Linked DNA regions of Homo sapiens: region 2 is linked to region 1. Evidence: promoter capture Hi-C in human tissues and cell types (Jung and others, 2019). All regions are on one chromosome and are shown on one strand. The core of a region is centred on a gene start or on the middle of the fragment in contact, and the rest is flanking DNA. Distances in the headings are between cores, read along the strand shown. Region 1 holds the start of DBX1 (developing brain homeobox 1). Region 2 has its middle 13 kb from the start of MRGPRX2.

What was found. The method cuts DNA at HindIII sites, captures the fragments that hold promoters and counts their contacts. A contact is called where the count stands out against the background at its distance.
Region 2: a fragment that was not itself captured here is called in contact with the fragment with the promoter of DBX1 in region 1 in 1 of the 25 tissues and cell types used here (lymphoblastoid cells).

Annotation. Positions count from the first base shown.
Region 1 is chr11:20,158,254-20,165,287 of GRCh38, forward strand. DBX1 (developing brain homeobox 1) reads right to left here and starts at 2,222. Exons shown (of 4, transcript NM_001029865.4): 1 at 1,705-2,222; 2 at 938-1,039. The coding sequence starts at 2,071. RefSeq lists enhancers at 2,602-3,103, 3,104-3,603, 4,728-5,229. The HindIII fragment of the contact is 9,910 bases long and covers 1-7,034 here.
Region 2 is chr11:19,070,456-19,077,606 of GRCh38, forward strand. No RefSeq gene overlaps it. Among named protein-coding and RNA genes, the nearest start is that of MRGPRX2, 13 kb to the left of the region's middle. The HindIII fragment of the contact is 5,566 bases long and covers 1-4,923 here.

The sequences.
Region 1 (7,034 bases), core at 972-3,471:
GGGAGGGCGAATTATCTCTCCCCTTTAAAAAATCAATTGCTTGTTTCTTTTGCTGATATTTGGGAGTGCTGTCGTGATTTTACCCATCCCCCGCAGGCCATACCCAGTTTTTCTTCTCTGTATAGGGACTCTCCTGCCTCCTTTTTAGTTTTGACCAGTGGCAGAGTTTTTGAGCCATAGTTTGAATCATCAGTGAGGTTACAGGAAGAAAACCTGGTGGAAGCTGCCTAAGGTGTTGCTGTTTTAGGCTGGGACACAATTATGGGCTTTCTTCTAACTGCTTCTTATTTTGCAAGATCAACGGTATTTTATAATACAGGGTGGGAAAGGAGTATGAGAAGGGGTTTGGAAATCAGGCTGGAAATAGGTTGGGATTGGGGGAGGATCTAATCCCCCTCCCCCTGGGCGACCCTAGGCATCCCACACAAGAGGGCACCCCATGTGGTCTTGTGAAAAGCCCGAAGCCCTGAATGAGTCTTAAAGAGAAATTAGCCCCGGCTGGTAGGTGTCTCTCGGCGGCGTGGAGGGACTAGGGCCGGTCTGTGTGTGGCTGCCCGGAGGAGCTGACCAATTGGTCATGGTGCTGAAACCTTTGTGGGGAATCGTGGCCAAGTGCACTGACTCTGTGGGAAAACGGCGGCGTGAAGGGATGCCAACAGCTCCTCGCCGGGAAGGGAACCGCCTCAAATTGGGACCATGACAATTCCTGCTAATTTGTAGAGCAGGGAATTGGTGCAAAGTGTCAAGCAGTCACTGCTTGTGCTCAATAGGGCATCAAATTGGCGCGACGGATTCATGAATGTTATACGCCTCGCAACCTCTGAACCAGAGCATAACCCCGAGGGGTGGACGGAGAAATACGGCTTCGGAGCAGGGAGCGATGGGCCGGGGCTGGGGCGCCGCCCTGCCTCGCGCAAAGAAGGGGGACGAGACCTACCTGGGAAATAAGAAGATCTGATGAAAGGCTGAAAAGACCCTTCGAAGTAGGGAAAGGCGAAGGTCTTGGGAGGGACGCTCTGGAGCAAGGCTGGGGATGTTTCTGGTGGGCGATGGAGGGGGGACAGAAGGAGAGAGGGAGACAGAAAGAATCTGATTACGTACTTGCCTATTGTATAGCACACTGAACACACGATATAATTAGCCCTTCATCTGGTTTCAAAGACATCTTTCTTATACGTTGACAGGGTAAAATAAATCTTCCCAACATTGTCTTATCTGTAAAACTCTTTTCTTTCTCCCCAACGTAATTCTCTGCGCCGTCCCACTCTACCCCAATCTCCATCCTAGGCACTAACGAGATAGGACTGAGTGGGGAGGAAAGAAATTGCAGATTTATAATATTTGCTAATCCAATAAATATATCATATTGAGTTTAAAAAAAAAAACTGTCTCCTAGAAGCTCGAAGGCAGAAACGCAGACGTCCAGGAGCGTGCGCTCAGCGTTACTGCACCAGATGACTGCGCACAGTCTCCGACTGCGTGTGCTCAAGTTCACTCCGAGGATGGGGCGAGCCTGGAGGCTTTTCTTCCCCGGAATTGACTGGACTATTCTCACATTGCCTGACGTAGGGTCTCAGAGTTCGTGCGTATTGTGTGTGCACCGATGTGTGTGTGGGGGCCCGCTCGCTAGAGGAAACTGAGGCCAGGATGACTCCGCGCATGCCTAGTACCTGAATGGGCCCTTAGGGTTCTGACCTCGCTTACCTGTTCTGGGCCCCGAGGAGAGGATGGCGTTCACTCCAAACTTCAGAAACGTCGTCTCGCTGGCAGGGGAGAAGGCAGTCGGCGGAGAGCCGCCCCGTCGGCTGCCGGGACCCGGGGAGCCCAGGTCCGAGGCCCCCGTGTCGGTGAGGGCCGTGGGGGCCCCCTGCCTGGGCGGCGACATGCTGGCGGTGGGCACGCTGCGGGGCAGGTAGGCGGGGGGTCGGCTGATGCGGATCAGATCCTCCACCAGGAAGCTGGAGTGGCCGGAAAATGCCGACTGCAAGGACTGGGGCAGCGTCAAGGTGGGCGTGGGCCGCAGGAGGCTAGGGTACCCGGCGGGGGGCGCGAGGAGGCCGGGGAACATCATGGTAGGCGCGGGCGGGCGAAATAACCCTTCTTTCAGTGGCCGGAGGGTAAACGCCTCGCTTCCCGCCCCTCCCGCCCCCACAGTGTCCTCTCTCTTGGGCTTAGCAAACGTCTCCAAGTAACAATCCCACTTGGGCGTCTGCGAGTCCTCCGTGGTCCTCTCGTCGAGGTGATGGTTTTATAGTGGCCCGCCCGCTAAAGCACTTTGAAAAGTGACAGCTCTGACAATGAAGTTCAACAAAGTTCTCCACTCGAGCTTCATTCGCCGGAGGCTCTGGACTCTCTGATTGGCGCAGGGGTGCAATTTATGATTGGATTAGTCTTCATAAGCATGGCCCGCACAATGGGCCGGCAACAAAGGCCCGCGCGCATCAATTTTGCATATCGACCGCCTCTTTGCAATACAGTGCGCCCCCAAAGCTCTCGCCAAAGGTTTTTGTTCCGAAGCAACACCCGGGCTAATTAAATGCCTATTTAGAAGTTTCAGATGACATCTTGCCTCATAGAAAAGGAATTATTTAAAGAACCCACTAAATTTATTTGCAGCTCCCCTGCTAAGCCTGGAAAATAAATCAATAAATATTCATAGAAATACATCTTCAGGCTATCAGCAAAGTTGCCCTCCCTCTTGTGGGGGTAGGGCAATGAAAAGTTTCAAGTCAGTGGACATGAAAATATACTCCCTTTCCGGTCTCTAGCCCTATCCGTTACTCCAGCTGAAGCATAAAGCAAATGTAGGGGTGAGTGAAATCAGTGTTAGAAGTCCCATTCTGACGACTCAGGGAAACTTGGAAACGGATGCTTTGGGGCCACTGGATGTGTGTCCGTAAGAGTGGGGAGAGGTCTGGAGTTATTTCATTTCGGGAGACTGGTTGAGTTTGAGCGTTGGTGGATACCTGAAAAGTAAAACGAGTCTCCTTCAAATTCCCAGCAACTTGGAAAACGATTTTCTCTAGGAGTTTCTGCAAGGGGCTGTCCGCACCTCACCTTGCGGGAGGAGCGGAGGAGAGCGGCGCTGGGCTGCCGAGCGGCAGGATTCCGCTTGCAAAGAGCTTAGGCTGACCGGAAACTGCCTCGGGCAAGGGTATCCAAAGGCTGTGAGTGCTATGCTGGCCGTTCTCCAAACACAGGGAGCTCTCGGCAGTTTAAGTTGAAACTCACAGCCCTGACATTTTAAGCCATAGCAGCGAAGGTCCAGACGTCGTCTGGAGAGAACCCTACCACTTGCGGGGCCCTTAACTTGGCCCAAGGTTTGGCAGCTTCTTAATTAACTACAACGCACAAACGCGTGAAAACCAGAGGGAAGGGATGCGGTTCCCAAGAATGTTGGTCCACTCCGGGAAAGCCTCCCCTGAATGTGGGGCTTCAAAGGAGAATCTTCCTGGAGACAGTCCCTTCGCTTTCCTCTGGTTGGGGCTGAGGTGGTACTAAGACTCGATTCCCCCCATTTCTCTGTTCGGCGAGATAACAGATGTGTTAAATGTCCCATTCATCTCTTTAGTGTGGCTGAACCTCCCCAAAGAGAAGTGTGCAGCCCCGCCAGGCCGCCCTGATCCTATTAACCATGAACTAACTGTCACCTTCAGCTGGTTTTCCTTTTTGCTTTTTAACACAAAGCTTTCTCAAAAATCTTATTAACCAGCTTTATTTCTCTCGATGGTTTTGTTCGGGGTGTTTTGTGTTGATGATCTCCATGTCGCTGCTTTAACCATTCAATAAAAGTGCATCTGCGATTTATATCACATTAAACCAGAAACGGAGCCGGCTAAAACTCTCCCTTGATTCAAATTAAAAAGTTATTTAGGGCCCAGCTCCAGAGGCGAATTAATGCTAGAAGATGACGTAAGTGCGGAGTTTCTGAGCCCAAGACCGCTCATGCTCATGGGCAGCGGGAGAAAACCAATCAGGAAAGAAACAACTTTTAAATAAGGGGCTATTTAAATATGGGAAGCGCCTTGCTGGAGTTAATTGGAGTCCCCTGGAAACGGAAGAAGGAGATCTGTCGAAGAACGTCAAAAGTTCCTTTTTGAAGTTTGCAATAAAATAGGTGAGAAAAGCATAAGCTATCTGAACACCTGCACTTTAACCTTGCCATGAGACAGTTTCCCATTGCAATAAGACTGGCTCTCTCCCTTCCTCTCCCTTACTTTTTTCCTCAGGCCCACCTCCCTCCTTCTCCCACTCCCTTTCCCTCTGCCCCCCACCCCTTTTTCTCCCCGAGTCTTAAGGACTTGGGCAATTGCCAGTTCCCAGAAGGACGCGCCGGGGGCTTCAGGATGTTTGATTCCCTACCGGTGAAGCGCTTGTCCAAGTCTTCCGGATGATCAGAATAGAGTCTATATTTGCCAAAATCAACTTGGATTTTGTTTTTTTTTGGAGGGGGGAACGGTAAGAACTTGAAGCCAGCGTGAGCCCTTCCCAGCTCCTCCTTCCCTGTTGGGGCATTTGCCGGGGTGTAGTTTTCACCGTTTCCTGTCCGTCGACAGGCTTCATGCCACCCCTAGCCCCCACCCCAAGCCCCAGCCATTCTGCCTCACTATAGACTAACTGCTACTAACTTCTCGGCTTTTAAAAGTCTACCCTGCCATTTTTTGGAGGGTGGATCAACCCCTTGCTGCGATCCACGTGGACCCTGCTTCCTGGGGTCGGTCTCCACAGCCTCCTAAAGAATTCCTAAAGCGCCAAAGAGGAAAAGTGAGGGCGGGGGCGAGGGGGCGAGGGCTGGCCGCCCGTGAAAGGAAAAATAAATCCTAAGGAAGCAAGAAATCGGACGAAAGGATCTTACTTTAAGTGATCTCCTTGAACGCGTCTTTTCAAACTCCGCGATAGCCCAAGGAGCTGCGCGGCGCGGCGGCTGCGGCTAAGACCTGTGACTAATGCCATTTGACCTGAGCCCATGGGGTTTTGTGCGTCCTGCCATTCACTGTTATGTCGTTATCTTCAAGTTTATTTCGGAGAAATCACTCGCGTTCTTTGTCTCAAGGCTGAGCTTTCTGTCTATTTCTCTTTCAAGAGAAAAGAAGACGGGAGGGGAAAAGAGAGAATCGGAGTCCCTGGTTTGGGGTTTAAGGTCCTTGCCTACGCTGCGGGGGAGGCCGCAGCAGATCCGGCTGGGGCTCCCCGGGCCTAGGTGGCCAAAGCTGCCGAAACCTGCCTTGGATAGTAGAAAGAGCGTGTCGGAACGCACTCTGGGGGTTTCGTTCCCCCCGCGCAGGGGAGAGCGAGCATGTTCCTGCCCCGGGCGCCGTGCGGTCGCAGCAGCAGCGCGGCCCTCTCCAGTGCGAGCCGTGCCTGGAATGTCTCGGGTAAGCGAAGGGCCAGCAAGCGAGGCGAAACGGACACTATAAAGCAGAGAGTGGTGTGAGCTTCCCCGCCCTCTGAAAAGATGGCAAGTCTCCGTTTCGGGAAGGCTGCAACGCTAAGGTCACCCTTTGCAGGCTTCGGACCCCCAGTCCTCCATGCTCCCTGCCGGAGCAGCCAACAGAGTGAGAGCGCATTTTGGAAAGATTGGCCGGATGCCGGGCGGCGACAGGGAAAAGCGCCCGACGCCTGGCTTTGGGGTGGGGGGTGTGGGGAGGGGGGGCAGGGAGCTAACGGGCGAGGCGAAGGAGGAGGGCTGCGAGGCTCGGACTGAAAGAGCTTTCCTACCGCCCCAGCCCCTCTTCGCAAGCCTCTCTTTTAAGACAGCTCTAAGGGGTTCACCTTCAGAATAGGCCACTAGGAGCTACCGCTGCCCCAGCTCTTTCTAGTGTCTCCCCCCTCACCCCCCATCCCTTTCACACTCACTCCCCTCTTTTTCCTTGAAAATCCTTCTATTGTGCCAATCAAGCAGATGGTTTGCAGGAAATATAGCTTGGCCTCGCTGACCGAAACAAATTTTAACTAGCTTTCCAAGCCCGAAACGTTTGTTTTGCTCTTACAAAATAGCCCCCAAAACAGCTGGCAAGGGTGAATTAAACCCATTAAAGACACATTTATAAGAAATTATATTCACATAGATTGCCCGAACCCCCTTGTGCTGCCTAAGAGAGGAGATGAGCGCATTTAAATGAAAATGTCACCGGACGCTCCCCTCCTTAACGTAGCCTGAAAGTCTCAAAACATTTTACTAAATAGATTAACTTGACTATTGTCTTGCATCACATTTATCAGCTTCATTAAGTGAATAGCTGAACAAATATATTACGCATGCATGAAAAGCTCTTTTTCGAGGAGTCTCATTGTATCCTCAGCCCTGACAGGTGGTTAACTGTGTGTTGTTTTTTTGTGTGTGTGGGTTTTTTTGGTGTTTTCTTTTTCTTTTTTTTTATTATTATTTTTTAACCCGAATAAAGGGGATCTCTGTAGAGCGGTGCAGGGCTTGCAGTGCGGACTTGGAGAAAGTTTACTTCAACTCCCTTCTTGGACAACCCTCTGCCCTAGCAATATTAAAACCATGTTGGGCCAAGGAGATATGAGACCGTTCAAAATAATCAAAATTAAATTTTGGTAAGCCCAGCCTTGAGTGCTTTCTCTCTCCATCATTATCTCTGCCCACTTGTCTGGGAAATTAATTTCATACTGCTACTTTTTAAAGCTGAAGATTCCGTCCCACTCTGCTTGAAAATAGCCATTGTTTCTCCTTGCTTAACCAGCTCTTCACAGACTGCAGGATTAAATATTCTTTTTTTTTAAAAAAAAGAAAATAATAATAAAGACAGAGTCTCATTTTGTTGTCCAGGCTAGTTTCCAACTCCTGGCCTCAAGTGATCCTCCAGCATCTAAATATTCTTTTAACTCACATTTGAATCCATTTCACTTTACTATATGTATTTAGGAAAAGTTCTTGTCTCCTGGGCCTCAGTGTCCCTATGGGTAAAACGAGGGGGGTTGCCTCAGAAAGCTCTCTAAGGGCCCTTTCAGATCTGATCTCCTGAGGTTTAAAACCCCTCAGCTCTTTGTTGCCTTATGAAGGGGCCCAGCAA
Region 2 (7,151 bases), core at 891-3,390, 1.1 Mb before region 1:
TCTGACTCAGGAGAAGAAGGAGTGCTCTGGAGGTTTGGGCCTGGGGAGCAGAATATGGCTGCAATTCAGGACCCTGAGCCAATAGGGCTTGGTGGCAACTCAGGTGTCAGGGATGAGGAACCATGTGGTGACTCTAGACCTTGGAGATGGTGGGGTATATTTTAGACTCTGTGAGGCCAGGTACAATGGCAGCGAGGACCCTAAAATGTCAGAGCACAACTGTTGTCTTGGCCCTGGGGGGCAAGGAGCAGCACAGCAAAGACTCCACTTCCTGAGGAGTGAAGTCTGACACTTAACTTTTTGCAATACTCATTGTGTGAACTTTAAGAAGCTCCTTAACTTTCCTGGATCTCTATTCCTCATTCCTAAAATAGGACTAATCCTGTAGTTCTCCAAGGGTGTTTTGAGAGTCATTTGGTTAACTTTTGCATGCTTCATAAATGACGGTATTGGTTAGTCCTGAGTCTTCTGCATAATAACTGTTTGATATTGAATAAGCTATTTTCTCTCTCAGAGCCCCAATTTTGAAATCTGTTAAATACATATAAGATATGCCTCATAGAAGTATCAAATTAAATTGTAAATTAAGCAATATAAAGCAACTGGTACAATGCCTAGCTGATAGATGCTTGATAAATAGTACCCCTGTTATTCTAATTCAAATTTCACTGCCAAGTTTTGAGTTAAATTTAGAGTTTCAACTTCATCAAAATTTTACTGTTATATACTTTAATGAGGAATTTTTTAAGGGATTCTGAAGCAGGGAGCACAAAGAGCAAGCTCTTAACATTTTGGCTTCCGGTTGCCGAAATATTTAATACCACATCAGATTGTGAAGGGATAGAAAAGAAATGTAATGTTACCACATTACGTCACTAGGTGGTAGTCAAGGATCATTGCTTTGTTAGTATGCGGTAACCCTTGACTGGCCAGCAGGGGGCCCATGTCAATGACATTGCTGGAAAAAGTTTGGGATCTCAAGCCGATGTGTGTTTGTGCGTGGTGTGTGTGCCTGCGCGCAAGAGGGAATAGGGAGGGAGGGTGAGGACAGAGGGAGGGAACAGGAAGATGAATCCAAGTGAGACGAATGCCCTGTGAAGTTTGGGAACCGGTCTCTACTCACTGTCTACTTACCCACGCCAATTTTCTTTTCTTTTCCTTTCTATTTTTTTTTTTTTTTTTTTTTTTGACAAAGTTTCCCCCTGCACCCAGGCTGAAGTGGAGTGGCAGGATCATAGCTCGCATCTCCAAACTCCCGGGCTCAAGCCGTCCTCCCACCCCAGCCTCCCGAGTAGCCAAGATTATCCATCCCAATTTAAAGTAGAGCAATGAAGGGGACCCATGTAATTTTTGCAACCTGAGCATTCATGGATGGCAGCATGTACAGCAGCTCCTGCGAGTGTCTATTAATCAACCACTGAAATGCTGGTCTCAAATCCCGATCTACTAAGTCTGTGAATCCAGGTTAGGACTACTAATTTAATCTTACTGTCATGTTGCTTAACCTTACTAGTCAGTCCTTGGCTTCCCCATCAGTAAGATGGCTGTTGTGAGGTATTCAAGGTGCACATGTGAGTGCTTAGCACATGCTTAAAGCCGTGTGACATCAGAATGTGCCCTCTGTCATCGTCAGGACCATCTTTATTATTTCACCGACTTTCCCAGTCTTCCACAGGGTTTCTGAAGCTTGCTCCTAAAATCCCAATCCCCAAGGCCAGCTGAAACTGCTCAGCACGTGTCTGCCACGTTAGGCTTTGGGGCAGGGCAATAGCCTGAGGACAGCAGATGGAAGCACTGGGCAAAGACACGGTGCCTGCACCTGCTGCTATGCGATGGAGGGAGGTACGCCCCAGGTTCCCTTCTGTTCCTGCTCCTCTGTTAGAGCGGATACCTCATGTGAACATGGGCTGGAGACTCGATAGCCCTATAGAGATGGAAAGGGTTATTACTTCTGGTATAATTCTGTCATTTGTTGGGAAACAAAAGAGTAAGTCTTACTGCCCATTACGTCTCAGTAACAACAACTGATCTCCATGTCTTTCTGACTTTCAGGGAGCCCCAGTGACCTTCACGTCACCCTCTTCTCCCCAGGTTCCTTCAGGCCTGGCTGCCATCTGGCAAGTCCTGCCTGTCTGGTTTTCCCAGGCTTCCCTCTGCCAGTGTTTGGCCAGGGCGGGCCAGGGAGAGGCTGTAGGGACCAGCTGCCAGGGGTGGGCAGGGTGTGTCTGACCCCACGGTGGAGGGTTGGGCAGCCAGGGAGGAGGGCATAGTGTGGAGGTCTGCGTCAGTGAAGACTTGGGTGCAGTGAAGGCCTATAGCTCAGGAGGCTGAGGGCGACTCCCTGAAGGTTGGGCTGGTCCCAGGCTTTGCTTGTTGGATGGAGGAGACCTGTGGGGCCTCTGTGTCAAACCAGCTCCTGTGTCCAGCCCAAATTTAGAAAATCAGTGTGGGGGAGCCAAGCTTACCCCAATCCACAGATAACTGCACAGTTTGGAGTTATGCTTTGAGAGAGTGAAGGGAAGGACTTGTCGGGGCAGGATGTGTTCCAGAATATAAGGATCCGAACAGTGTGAGCCGTTTCTCACATCCCTCTCAAGTGCTAACCTACTCAGCCTCCAAGCCCATGCTCCGCAGGCCTCTGTGCTCTGCACTCCTCTCTCCTCTTTGCCTTCTGTAGTCCCCTTTACCTGTTAGGCCCCAGAAGGCTCCCGTTTTGGGGTATAACCCAGGTCCTAGGGCACTCCCCTCATCTGAACTCTGTAGCTGCTGCACCTGTCTCCTCTGCTCCTCTAGGCTGAAAGCTCCCTGAGAGCAGGGCCTATGTTATTCATTCATGGATTCACTCATCCATTTCTTCAATGAATATTGATTGTGCACTCCTTGCTACTTGATAGGCCTTGTTTTAGGTGCTGGAACTGGCACACTGGGTGAGGTCTGAAATTCAGCTCCTGACTCCTGGCCCAGTGCTCTTCCCAACAGATTCCCATCCCCACCTACCTCACCCAGAGCCCAGCCTCCTGGATATAGGTCAGGGAAGCAGTGCCCAGAGCACCACCTTCCCCTCAGGACCCTGATAGGATATTGCCTGCAGCATTTTCCAGCAGGCACAAAGGGCTGAGAGGTACATCTTTGCAGTTTCCTTCTTCCCCTAGGACATTCTGGGAACCACAGGGATATGCACTACCCTTTCCTTCCTTTTGCAGGGTGGCGACAGGGACCAGGGCCACACTCACTGGGCCTAGGGGCAACCCTGGTTCAGACACTCCAGGCTACATGACCTCAGATGACTCCTGTAACCCCCTGAAGCCTTGGTTTCCTCATCTCTAAAAAGGTGATAGTGATACAGGAACTAGAAAGAAATTATTTAGGCAGATAGTGAGGGTAAGAGAGTCCTCAGTAAGGTTTCCTTTTAATAAAAAGCAGCCCCTAACTTGTTTCTTTTCTAAGAAAAAGCAACCTGAAAAATCAAGCTGCAAGCATAGATAAGCAAGCTAAAAGCTCACATAGGTAAATACTGGCAGCTGTGGCAATAGAAAAGCGATATCTGGAAGCCAGGTATATTCAACACGGAGGTTCCCTCTTCCCTTTCCTTTGTCACCACATGTGCAGTAAAAAGCAGGCAACATGGCACCGGCCAGGTAGAGACCCCATCTGCATAATAAAAGATTAGGGTGGGATGACCAGCTTCTTTGCATGCTATGCAAACAGCACACCTGGTTTGACCAATCTCTCATGCCCTATGTCAATCAGACACTGCCTCCTCAAGCTCATCTACAAAACGCCTCCATGCATTTCACCGTGGAACTGGAAGATCCAGTCCGGAGCCCCTCTCTCTGCAGGAGAGAGTTTTTCTCTTTTCTCTTTCTTTCACCTATTAAACCTCTGCTCTTAAACTCACTCCTCGTTTGTGTCCATGTCCTCGATTTCCTTGGAATGAGGCAATGAACCTCGGTTATTGCCCCAGACCAATGGCACCACTTTGATACCAAGAGTATCTTCTCCCTAAGGTGTTTTGAGAATTCTTTGATTCTGTGCCTTCAATAAATGGTAGCTCCTGTCCTCCCTGCCCCCACCCCACAAGCCTGAGGACTGAAGTCAACTCCTGTCCATGGCAAATCAGGCTCCTGCTTAGCAGACTCGGAGCTACAGGAAGCCCCGTCTCCCTCTTCTAGTGCTCAGCCCTAGCGAGAGTAACAACAATAATAATAGTTATTATAACAATGTTGATCTTTTTGATAGCACTTGCTTTGTGTCAGGCACTGTTGTAAGCACTTTACATTTATTAACTCATTTACTGTTTGGTACAATCATATGAAGTGGTATCATTATCATCCCCCTTTTTCAGATGATGAAACCTAGAGAGGTTAAGCAACTTGCCCAAGATCACACAGCTGATAAGTAGCCATTAGAAATGAAGAGACATGGTTGGGCACGGTGGTTCATGCCTGTAATCCCAGCACTTTGGAAGGCCGAGGCAGGCGGATCACCTGAGGTCAGGAGTTTGAGACCAGCCTGGCCAACATGGTGAAACCCCATTTCTACTAAAAATACAAAAATTAGCCGGGCATGGTGGCACATGCCTGTAATCCCAGCTACTCAGGAGGCTGAGGCAGGAGAATCGCTTGAACCTGGCAGGTGGAGGCTGCAGTGAGCCGAGATCGCACCATTGCACTCCAGCCTAGGTGACAGAGCAAAACTCTGTCTCAAAAAAAACAAACAGAAATCAAGAGACATTCTGGACAGCAGTCAGGCTACATTTGCATATAGTTGGTTGCCACATCAATGGCCAAGGTAAAAAGGTGAGTTGAGAATATACGAACTGGGTCATAAATGATGTGAACACAGCTAAGGACTTTCCCAGGACACCTGGACAGCAGGCCTCTGCCGACTCACCCTCTTTTTGTGCCCACTGAGTTGTGCTGCCTGGCACCTGAAAGGGCACATCAATGTTCTGGAGAAGGAAAAGGATGGCAGGAGAGTAACTGGTCTCTGCTCCCTCTTTGGGGCACACAGGGCTTCCAGAAATTCTTGCAAATGTGCCTGAGCCCACATAGGTGCTCTGAAGTAAAAACCACAGAGCTCACTCACACCCCAGAAGTGTTCCCAAATACATTCCCCCATGAAAATTTTCTCTAATATATTTAACTCTACCCACCCCCCAAACTGCTGATGGCAATTTAAAATATTATTTTCCATTCTGCCTCTGTTCTCATTTGTAGAACAGGGGAAGTCAGAGAAACATGGGCTGAGGGAAAATTCATGAGGACTTAGCCACCTGGGAGGTGTTTCTCAAGAGCTGCCAGTGTCGTTGGCTCAGCCAGGGCTCTTGGCGACATGGAGACAGAGCCAGGAGGGCAGGGCTCATGTCTGCTGTGTCTTGCTTCATTCTTAGGTTCTGTGTAAGAGTCCATTTGGAAACAGCTTCTGTGCTAAAAACAGAATTTGAGGGCTGTTGGGCTAGATAATTCCTAGATTCCATCTTGACTGCTACCTCCTAGGGCTCATTCATTCATTCCTCAAATATCACGCAAATACCAGGAGCTCTGCAGGCACTGAGGATCCAGCAGTGAATAAGAGTTATGGTCTCTGCCCTCATGGACCTCAAATACAATGTGAAAAAAGATGAAAAGTAAGAAAATAATGAATAAATGGAAAAATGACACATTATCATAGCTGCCATGAGGGAAATCAATAGGACAAGGTGATGGAGAGTCACTTGGGGGCTCCTTTGGATGGAGTGGTCAAGGAAGGATTCCCTGAGAAGTTTAAGCTGAGCCCAGGAGGATGAAAAGGAACCAGATTTGTCAAAAACCAAGGAAAAAATGTTCCTGGTGTAGGGAACTGCGAGTGCAAGTGTCCTGAAGCAGGAAAGAGATTAGAGTTTACTGTGGCTGGAGCAGAGGCAGGGATAAGTCAGACCTAAGGGGAGGTTTATTCTAAGTGCAAAGCCATTGGAGAGTTCTAAGCAAGGAAGAGGCACCATCTGATTTTCTCATTTACATTAAGCAGATCACTTTTCTGTGGAGAGGAGAATGCCTTGCAAGGGGCAAGGAGATCCACTAGGAAGCTATTGCAGAAGAGGGTGATAACTAGGGCTGGGGATGGCCATAGGGATGAGGAAAGTGGATGGTTTGAGGCAGAGCCAACTGGATTTGCTGAAGAACTGGCTGTGGGAGGTGGGTGCAGGGGTGAGAATTAAGTCTCCTGAAAGTGTGAAACAGACCCCGTTTTCCTACTTGGATGATATGCGTGCTCCCAGAGGTGCCTCACCCTCCATCCTCACTCACTGGAATACTTCTGTTTGCTTTTGCCACTTGTCACACTGGCTTCTCTGTGCTTGACACCCCAAACTCATTCCTACCTCAAGGCGTTGGCACTGCCTGGGCTGGTTGCCCTGAACTTCCCGTGGTTGGTAACTTCTTGACACTTGGGGCTCAGCTCAGCCATCTCCTCTCCCCTGCCCCAGCTGGCCTTTCTTGAACACACAACTTGTAGCCTGACCCACACCCTCCTCTACTCACTCTATTACATTACCCTGTTTTATGCTCTTTACTTTCATGATCTGGAAAGATCTTGTTCATTTATCTGCTTGGGATTTTCCCCATCTGCTTCCACTAGAATGTAAATTCCATGGGCAGGCAGCCCCTTGTCTGTCTCATTCAGCAGCTCTAAAGGGCAAGGCTGGCTGGGGGTGGCCCTGCAGTGCTAGGCCTCCTCCACAAGAGGGCGCACACAAAGTTTCTTTTCTGCTTTTGTCTAGACAATCTCTCCCGGAGTAAAATGAACAGAAAACAGACTCAAATTGCACACTTTACCTAGCTGGGTACACATGCTCTCATTTTTTTTTATATAGGTTTTTAATGTTTTGTTTGATAGTTTAAAACATGTTTTTCTGTGGAACTTCAGATGTTACCCTGAGACAGGGGAAGGGGGGAATCATAGGGACTCCGTTCCCGTCGGGTACCTCTCCATCGTGTGCTATGCTTAGGCTGGCTTTTGCCCGAAAGAACCTGTACTTATGTCTCCACTAACTGTAGCCAGTGATCTCCAAACAATTGGGACATAAATTAACATTTCCTTGATCCTAAGACCGTACTTGGCAATGACCCACAGATTTCTCAACCAACTGGGTAACTCTTGAGAAGGTTTCA